2 separate regions of the Homo sapiens genome follow, and region 2 is linked to region 1. Evidence: promoter capture Hi-C in human tissues and cell types (Jung and others, 2019). All regions are on one chromosome and are shown on one strand. The core of a region is centred on a gene start or on the middle of the fragment in contact, and the rest is flanking DNA. Distances in the headings are between cores, read along the strand shown.

Region 1 (4,233 bases), core at 1,610-4,109:
GGAGTCTGTGTTATCTGAATGGCATTCTCAGCTTTTCACTTGGAAAAATGCTTTTAAACTGGATTCTGATCCTTTCCATTATTTCAGGTAGACATACTAATAATATAATAGTATATAGTCATTTAAAAGAAGAATTTTATATATACTATATATGTGAAAAGATAAATGAACTTCAAGGTATTTTGTTGTCTGGAAAAGAAAGTTGGCAGATACAGTATAATGCCAAGCAATATATCTTAGTATATTGAATTATATTCATGTATTACTTATACAATAAAATGTATAATAACAAAAAATGAGGGATACAGAGAAAGAGAACTCTGCCATGATCAAGGCAAGAAAATACATGTGAAGGAGTAAGAAAGAGAAAAATCAGAATGCAGCAGGGCAGCAGTATTTAACACAAAATTTTCAAAGAGGGATCGCACTCTGTATATACTCTCAAAATTTGGGTCGGGGGGTGCATTTAGGAGTCCAGGCATGGATTAAGTAGATCCTCTGCTCAGGGTTTCACAAAACTGCAATTAAGGTGTCATTGGTTTGTGTTCTCATGTGGATGATTGACTGGGGAAAGATTTACTTCCAAGTTCACTTAGGCTGTTGACAGAATTCATTTCCTGGAGTTTGTAGGACTTCTTGCTGGCTGGCTATGGGCCGGAAGCTGCCTTTCAGCTCCTAGAGGCTGCCCATGGTTCCTCACCATGTGGACTTTCCAAGCATGGCCACTGCCTTCATCAGGCCAGACCGGACAGTCTCTAGAGAGAGTCTGTTCATAAGAGACAGTCTTTTATAATGTAATGTGGTCATGGGAGTGATATCCATCACCTTTGTTATATTTATTTTCAGAAGCAAGTCACAGGTCCCAACCCCTCTTAGGAGGAGGGGATCTAACACAGGTATGAACATGAACAGGTACTGGGAATCAGAAACTATTGGGGCCACTGAAGAATCTGTCACACAGGGATATCTTTGTTGCATTGAGACAGGAAAGCTATTTTAAGATGGTGTGGTGAAAAAGGATAAAAGCTCCTTACTCAAGCTCTAGCTTATCTAACTCTCAGTCAATAGGTAACAAAACACCCAAGAAGCTGTTAACTGCAAGCTCCTATTTCAGAGGGCTAGGGACTTCCCCAGATCCCCGCCTGTACAGTTAGACTTAAACTCCAACCTACATTTACCCCTTCCTCACTTTAATGCTAAAAATTACTCCTGGGGTGGAGATTTAAAATGCTAATGCTACATATGATGTATGAAAAAGCATATTGGGCCACTGTGCAAGCACTAGAAAAACTCCTCCTATAGGTGCCCTGATGTAACCCTCCCCTATAGAAAGACCCTATAAAACTGACCCACACACTATCCTCAGAGCAGTCCGTTCCTTTGCCTTTCTTGGTGCTGACTCCCTTGCGCACAAGCTGAATACACTTTCCTTTGCTGCTATGTTTGGTGATCTCTGTTAATCTCTATCATGGGAGATCATAAGAATCCAGGGCAACAGTAACAGCTTCTGAGTTTTTAAATTAAAAATAACAGTAATATAATCCTTAAATTTTTAAAATGTAGGACACTAAACAAGTAAAATCTAAATCCAGAGTACATCTGACCTCAAAGTTCATGGGCTTCTCACTTCCCTGGCCATAGTTTAAAGGTGTGTGTGTGTGTATATATATATATATACATATATATACACACACACACACACACACACACACACACACACACACTATGGACTACATCCAGTTCAAACTGGATTTCCAACATTTGAGTAAATCCCTGCAATGAAGAGAAAGAGCAAAGGCCTAGGAGTCAACTGGTTTCTAGCCATTTCTGGGGTGTAAGAATATGTGTATTTCTTGATCCTCAGTTCCAGCATCAATTAAAGGGAGTTAATTTTACCATCTATATTCACTGTTTTTGTGGTTACCCTGGGGCTCAAAAAAGACACTGATTGCTCAATAAATTCTTGTTCCTGGAGTCGCTGTTATCAATATGGTTATATAAAATGAAAGCGAACTAGAAGACAGGAGATGACATTCTTAAATTAGTGGCGTGTTTTACTGGTCGTCACCAACCCTCACATTTGTTTCATCACAAAAACAAAACAAAACTTTGCTAATTGCAAAGGAAGAAAAAATGCACCTGATCATTGCTTTAAAATTGTATGCATTTGGTTATTACTGATATGAGCTTTTTGTCATTTGTGTTTTTAAATTTTTTCCTTTTATGATTGTCTATGCCCTTTACTCATTTGCTTTTAGAGATGTTCATTGATTTGAATATAGATATTTTATTTTTCATGCAACAGTCCGTATTTATTGGTTGGGTGCGGTGGCTCACATCTGCAATCCTAAGCTTTAGGAGGCTGAGTCAGGAGGATGCCTGGGCCCAGGAGGTCGAGATTGCAGTGAGCCGTGATCACCACTGCACTCCAGCCTGGGTGACAGAGCGAGACACCATCTCTAAAAAAAAAAAAAATACTATATTTACCTCTCTCTCTCTCTCTCTCTGTCCAATACACCCTAATATTCCCGTCCCCACTATGGTGATTTACCTCTTCATTTTGTTTACGGTGTGTGTGGAGCGGGGGTGAGAGAGCAGGCGTGCAGTTGCCTTGGTTCAGCAGCCAGCCCATCGCTCCTGCCTAGTGTGACTGTGAATACTAGGTGTATGTTACAACCGGGAGCGGTGTACACTCGGGGAACCGCATCTTTGGAAACTTCGGTCCGTAGCGGCCGCTAGGATTCTCCGCAGCCCCGCACCCCGGTGGCCGAACCGCCTGCCCCGGCCCAGACGCAGCCGCCGCGCCCGCCCACCCGGCTGCGCCCCGGGGCGCGCGCCCGTGCCCGGCACCCGCCCGCGCCGCCGCGCCGCTCCGGAGCCCGCTGCGGTCACGCTGCGCCCGGCGCCGCAGGGTGGGCGGCGAGGCACTCACGAGGGGGACGCTGAGGGCTTCCGCGCGGGCCACCCGGGTCAAGCGCGCTCCGCCGGGAAACTTCTGCGGGCGCCGGGCTGAAGCTCCGGGCAGGGCTGGGAAGGAAAGGTAAGAAGGTGAGCCCGGGGGCGCTGCGTCCGCCGCCTTCCGGTGCTGTCCGCACCCTCGCACCTCGCGGCCGCTTCGGGCAACTTAGCGGGCGCGGCTTCTGCTGGGCCGCCGACCCCTGCGAGCGCTTGCGTCTCGCTGCCCCGCGCTGCCCGCGCCGCTCCCTTCCCGGCTCCGGTCAACTCCGCGCCCTGGGGTCCGGGGTCTGGGGTCCCGGCTGTGTCGCCGCTCACAGCTCGGAGGTCTAGGGGATCCTTTGCTGCGGTTCCTATCCGCGCCGACCCCTGAAGAACGCGAGTCGTATGCCCTAGAGGCTTCTGGGCGAATATTCCTCCCAGATCTTTTCCTGCAGGTCCTACTCTGGCCCCAGGCACCCTGGAGCCGAAATAAACAGGCCAGTTTTGCAAGGGAGAAAAGCCGTTCCTAGGGGCCCTTGTCAGTCCTGGGGAAGTCATGCCAGCGCCGGGAGTTTCCTTCCCCCCTACTCCCGCCCCCGGTCTGTAAGCAAAGGGCCTGACTGGTGTCAGTGCTCTCACACTGTTCTCACAGAGTTGGGGGTACAAAAAAGCTGCCTCATCAAAGGTCGCGCGGACCTGTTTTCTCCATTTGGGGATCCCCCTGCCAAAAAAGAAATTTGCCAACCCCTAAATTGTCTTATCACCATGTCGGTTACAGTGGTATAGTTTTGAGGGTCTGTATTTTAGGCAAAGATGAAAGGCACAACCAAAATACAGTAAGAGGGGCAGTGCCAAAAATTTAGCCAGAAGACATTTGCAGAAAGTGAAAAATTCTGTTTGTAAATAATAAATGGAAAAGTAGAATTAGAAGCCCACTTTTGGACGCAATTTGATTTACTAAACTTCGTTGCTTCCTGACTTTTCACTCTAATTCCGGTAGTTAGATATTTTGAATTTGCAAGCCTACAAACTGCAATTGAGTTTTATAGCAGCCTTAAAAAATTATTGTTGCCTGTTCATACTAAGTTTAGTGGCTATTTTTTTTCCTTCTTGTTTTTAATTCTACGGACTGTTGCATGAAAATATCCTCTTGTGAGAGTACAATAACTTGGCATTGTTCTTTGTGACAATAGAAAACCAAACAAGAACTACATGAGACAGAAAATATAAACAAAAAATTGGATCTCAGTTTCCATATTCGCAAAATGAAGAGCTCTGGCTGATCCCAGATTCCAG
Region 2 (4,561 bases), core at 345-2,844, 230 kb after region 1:
CTAAGTGGGGTAGATCCAAAGGCTGGTGATTTCTCACTAATTTAGGGACTTTTACATTTGTCATCTTGTCCCCAAGAACACCAAACAAAAGAAATCCCTGCCTTCACTACTATGGCAAAAACACTACGCACAACCTACTATTTTTACTGAATTTCCAGACGTATATCACTTATAATTTGATCCCTTTTCCTATGAGATGCCAGAATCTCCTAAAGCTAAGATAAGTGCGGTCAAAGAGAGGGAATCCGAACCCAAGAAAATGAGCACCCCCACCCCCACCGGGCCATGCCTAAAACTGAGCTGTCTTCCAGCAAACCCGGCGCCGTCCTTTCGGGAAGCCGCGATGGCAAACGTCGCCCTGGGCCTTCGGAGGATCAAGAAAAAACGTCGGCGAGAAAGGGCTGGACGCAAGGCTGGGGGCGATTTTCGGGATCTCTCTCTGCCCCTGGCAAGATCTCTCCCGCCTGAAAGCCGCCGACCCGCCCGTCGGGCAAACTGTCCTGATTCCTTCCGCCGCGTTTTGGTAAACCACTTGGCGGTAACTTTCTTGACATTCCTACGACATGGAGACAAATGCAAGGCGCGCCCGACTGGGTGCTTGGGTCTTGCAGCAGAGGCACTTCAGAATATAGTTGGGTCGCTTTGCTTTTGTTTCCAAAAAGCAAAATTCTATTCTCATTTAATTTCCTTGTCTGGAGGCAAAATGCTCTGGCTTCACACAATTGGTCCAACGTTAGAATTTTTATACAGAGGTAAAAATCTCTCGAGACTTTCATTAAATACCTTAACACACTTTCCCCAGAATAATAAAGTAAAATTATGGAAATACAGAAACGGATTAGCATAAATTTTAAGTTTTCCACACAAATTGCCTTTATATTTCAAAATTTGCCTTTATATTTCAAAATTTCCCTTTACATTTCAAAATTTGCAAATGCTTCCTTCTTTTTGGTCAGTTATGTTTCAGCAAAATATTTACAACAAAATTCAGAAAAGGAGCATTATTTTAAGACTAACATTCTGAAGAAAGAATTTTTTAACTTTTTTTAAAAATTATACATAATAGCTGTAGAAAGTATCTTTTTAAAAACCTGGAATAGCAAAAATCCTATTACATTAACATACTTCTCTCCCAATAAGCAGGAAAAATATTTTCCAAACTGTGCTCAACAAATACTTTCTTAAATTACTTTAATTAGAATAGTAACAGGCTAGAAAAATCATTTAGTACTAAGTTTTACATTACTTTGCCCAGAATGGCACAAAAGGAAGCTTCATGTTTTAGCTGCAAAATGAAAGTATTTTTCAACTGTACTACTTGAACATGTATGTTTCCTAATTTAAAGGTCTTTTTGCAATAAATACCATGAGTCTGTGGAGCAAACACTAAATAATGTTAATATACTATTCTTTCTTCCTCCCTCAAGCAATGAATAAAAGTATTCTTTAAAGCTCTATTTCATCAAAAGAAATAATCAACTGAAATAAGAATGTGGACTGTCTCCCAGGTATTTATTTCAATATTTACCCTTTGGGTTTATTTGAGGGGAGAGGGCAAGTATATCAGAAATGAAAAAGGAAAGAAGAGTGGCAGGGTAAAAGATGAGACAAGTTAAAAGAAATCTTCAGGCTTTAAAGATGCCTGAAGCAAATCAGCATGTGTGAGAAGCAAATCTGTGGAGAAAAAGCCCAGCTAGAAAATGGAGGCCAGAATTCTGGTCCTATTTACCAATTCTGGTCCTATTTACCAATCTGTGGCCTTGGGCTAATCACTAAACTTCTCTGGAACTCAGTTTCTTCATCTGTAAAGTGAGGAAACTGGACCAGCAAATATTCAAAGTCTTTTAACTTGAAATGTAATCTCTAGAAATAACCATTCTTCTGGTGAAAGTTGTACCTTTCCCCTCCGATCCTTTTTAATCACAAGGAAATACAGACATGAAACTTTATTGCAGTCACTTAACACATTGGTGTTAACATTATTTCCCAACAGAAAAGAAAAAGGTCTCTGAACTGGCCCCAACAGAAAACCACAGTCGATAATAAGGGGAAAAAAATAAAAAATTAATAAATGAAAACAATAATAAGAGGAAACTAGGTGGTATACTAAAACATTTGTACCAACTTTTGAGAATCTTCTTTTTCATGATATTAGAGTATCACCCCTATGTCAAGATTCACTCCAAAAAAAAAGCAGTTTCTCAAATGGAAATCCTATCATGGTTTCCTCATCCAACTTTTTGATCCTTACTGCTTTCCTCTTGCTACTCACAATCCTATATTTGAAAAGTTTAATAACAGAATAACATCATTTTACTTGTAGTTATTATTAATATTCATATACTTTGCAATATCACAGCTCCTATGTGTGCCTTCAAAGTGGTATGGTCAAGCCAGAGTAATAAATTATCATCAAATAAGATTGTTACTAAAAAATGGTGCTATAACTTTTAAGTTAATTTTAATAATATAAGAAAGCATGTCAAAAGTCTGGGTTTAAAATATTAAAGTTCAAATGACTCAGCTTTGTCATATGAAAACGAGGAGCAAATTCTGATATATGTTTATGAAAAGCAACACAGAGCTTCCTAGATAAGAAAAATTTCCTCAAAATGTCTAATATATTGTGCTATTTCTGTTATGATAAATTATTTTAAAACAGCACCATGTCTCCATTTTTAATTTAGTTCAGCAGATATTCGTTAGTGCATATTTTACTTTGGGAGTTACAAAAATGAACAAACCATGAATACTTTTCATTCATCTCCATAAGCATTTAAATATCTGTTATCTATGCTGCTTGAGTTACAGAAAAAGGAATCACAAAATACAATACTGCTAAAAGTGGGGGTGGGGGGAAAGGGGTTAATTAGAAGAGGTTGTCCACGTAATTCTTATGGGAACACCAGTTTTTTAGATGGAGTGATCAGGACGAAGTATAGGAGGACTTGGTACCTGTCTTGCCAAAGTAGAAAGGATGGAGAATTCCTGAGGGCTGTCAGGTTCTCATATGCCTCTAGCGATCTTGATCTTTTAAAACATTAATTAAACAAAATATTTAAAAAAAAAAAAAAAGACTAACCTGGGGCTGATGAAACCTGGTTGAATGACCTCATCCTCTTCTGAAGAACCTAAAATCAGAGAGCTCAAGTCAGTACTACATTAATTGCCTATTTAATTGCCTCTTCTTCATCCTAATGGCCATTAGAAAGCAATAAAATGCCCAGGTTTTGACTCTGTGAAGAGACCTGTAAACTTTTTTTTACAGTTTAAGACTCACCTAGCAAAATTAGATAACCAATTGGCATATACTTGCCTTTTATATCTAGTAGAGGACACTAGTTTAAAGAACATTTACAACATTTAAGACCATTAAGATGCAGTCAAAAGATCCCAATATCACGAACAATGCAGTTTAAATTTTAATATTTAATTTTACACTGTAATTTTAAAATACTAGTATTTTTTCCAAGCACAGTTAAAATCTACTTAACCTAGAATATCATGTTTCTTGAAGAACTAACTTCTTTGACTATTCTCTTCAGATATATTTCAGAAGATAAATCATGAGAATCTAACGATGGTACTATAAAATAGATATTGGGGCTGTTGCAGTCAAGTGAATGAAAAATTACATTAATGGTAATACATTTAATCATTAAGTATATTTTTAAATATCTAATATGCATTTTAACTTATATTTTTAAATGGGTTAATGTTTTTTAAAAAGCAAACAGTTCTCATTTTTTAAATATGAGTAAATATTGATGTTTCTAATACATCCATTGGCAGATGCCACAACACAATAAAACTTGCAATAAAGAGGCCACACAGTAATCAAGTATAGTGATTGGAAGAGGAACTCCTGGTGACTACTAAATTATTGTTTTTATCCTTGGGTCAGTTATTAAGGTTTGCAAAACAGATTGGTGTGAACATGCATGCACTCACCTGCTACACCCAGAGTTGTCTTTCCTTAACTAAGTTTTACACACTAGACCTACTATATCAACTCACAAAAAATAAGTAAAACCATTCTGTGCAAATTATTTAAGTTGCAATCTAATTTTCTTCTCAAAAGGAAATGGAGACTTTTCCAAGTGCAGGGTTCTACTGAATGTTGACCCAAGGTTCTTTTTACAAAGGATGACAATCCCACCGAGTTAGATTTGAAAAGAATAGAGGAAGAATGTGAACAAAAGGCACGTGAACCTCTGTACATTAAATCCTTCACTTAGCCTGTGTTTACAACCAAAAGACACAAGATAATGACAGATCCTAACTTTAACAAAATTCATTACAGACACTTAATGAAACAGAGCTTTCCTTTACATTGATCCTGTATCAAGTTTTATTTTGCACATCTGGCTTATGTGTGAGTATATTTAATTATTGTACATAAATATTTCAGCACAACTGTAGCTTCTGCCTTTCTATTCTAATAGTCCACAGCCTATTCTTAATCCTATCTGCTTATATTTAGAGAAGAATTCAAGCCAACATATTTTAAAGATGTGTAAATACAATAGATAGGGTTTGTTAAAAAAAAAAAAACTTTGCA

The links. The method cuts DNA at HindIII sites, captures the fragments that hold promoters and counts their contacts. A contact is called where the count stands out against the background at its distance.
Region 2: a contact is called between a fragment that was not itself captured here and the fragment with the promoter of POPDC3 in region 1, in 1 of the 25 tissues and cell types used here (H1 embryonic stem cells).

Annotation. Positions count from the first base shown.
Region 1 is chr6:105,178,640-105,182,872 of GRCh38, reverse strand. It overlaps POPDC3 (popeye domain cAMP effector 3), which reads left to right and starts at 2,859. Exons shown (of 4, transcript NM_022361.5): 1 at 2,859-3,040. The HindIII fragment of the contact is 10,229 bases long and covers 1-4,233 here.
Region 2 is chr6:104,949,031-104,953,591 of GRCh38, reverse strand. It overlaps a transcript of LIN28B not described here. Among named protein-coding and RNA genes, the nearest start is that of LIN28B, 5.8 kb to the left of the region's middle. The HindIII fragment of the contact is 5,482 bases long and covers 1-4,335 here.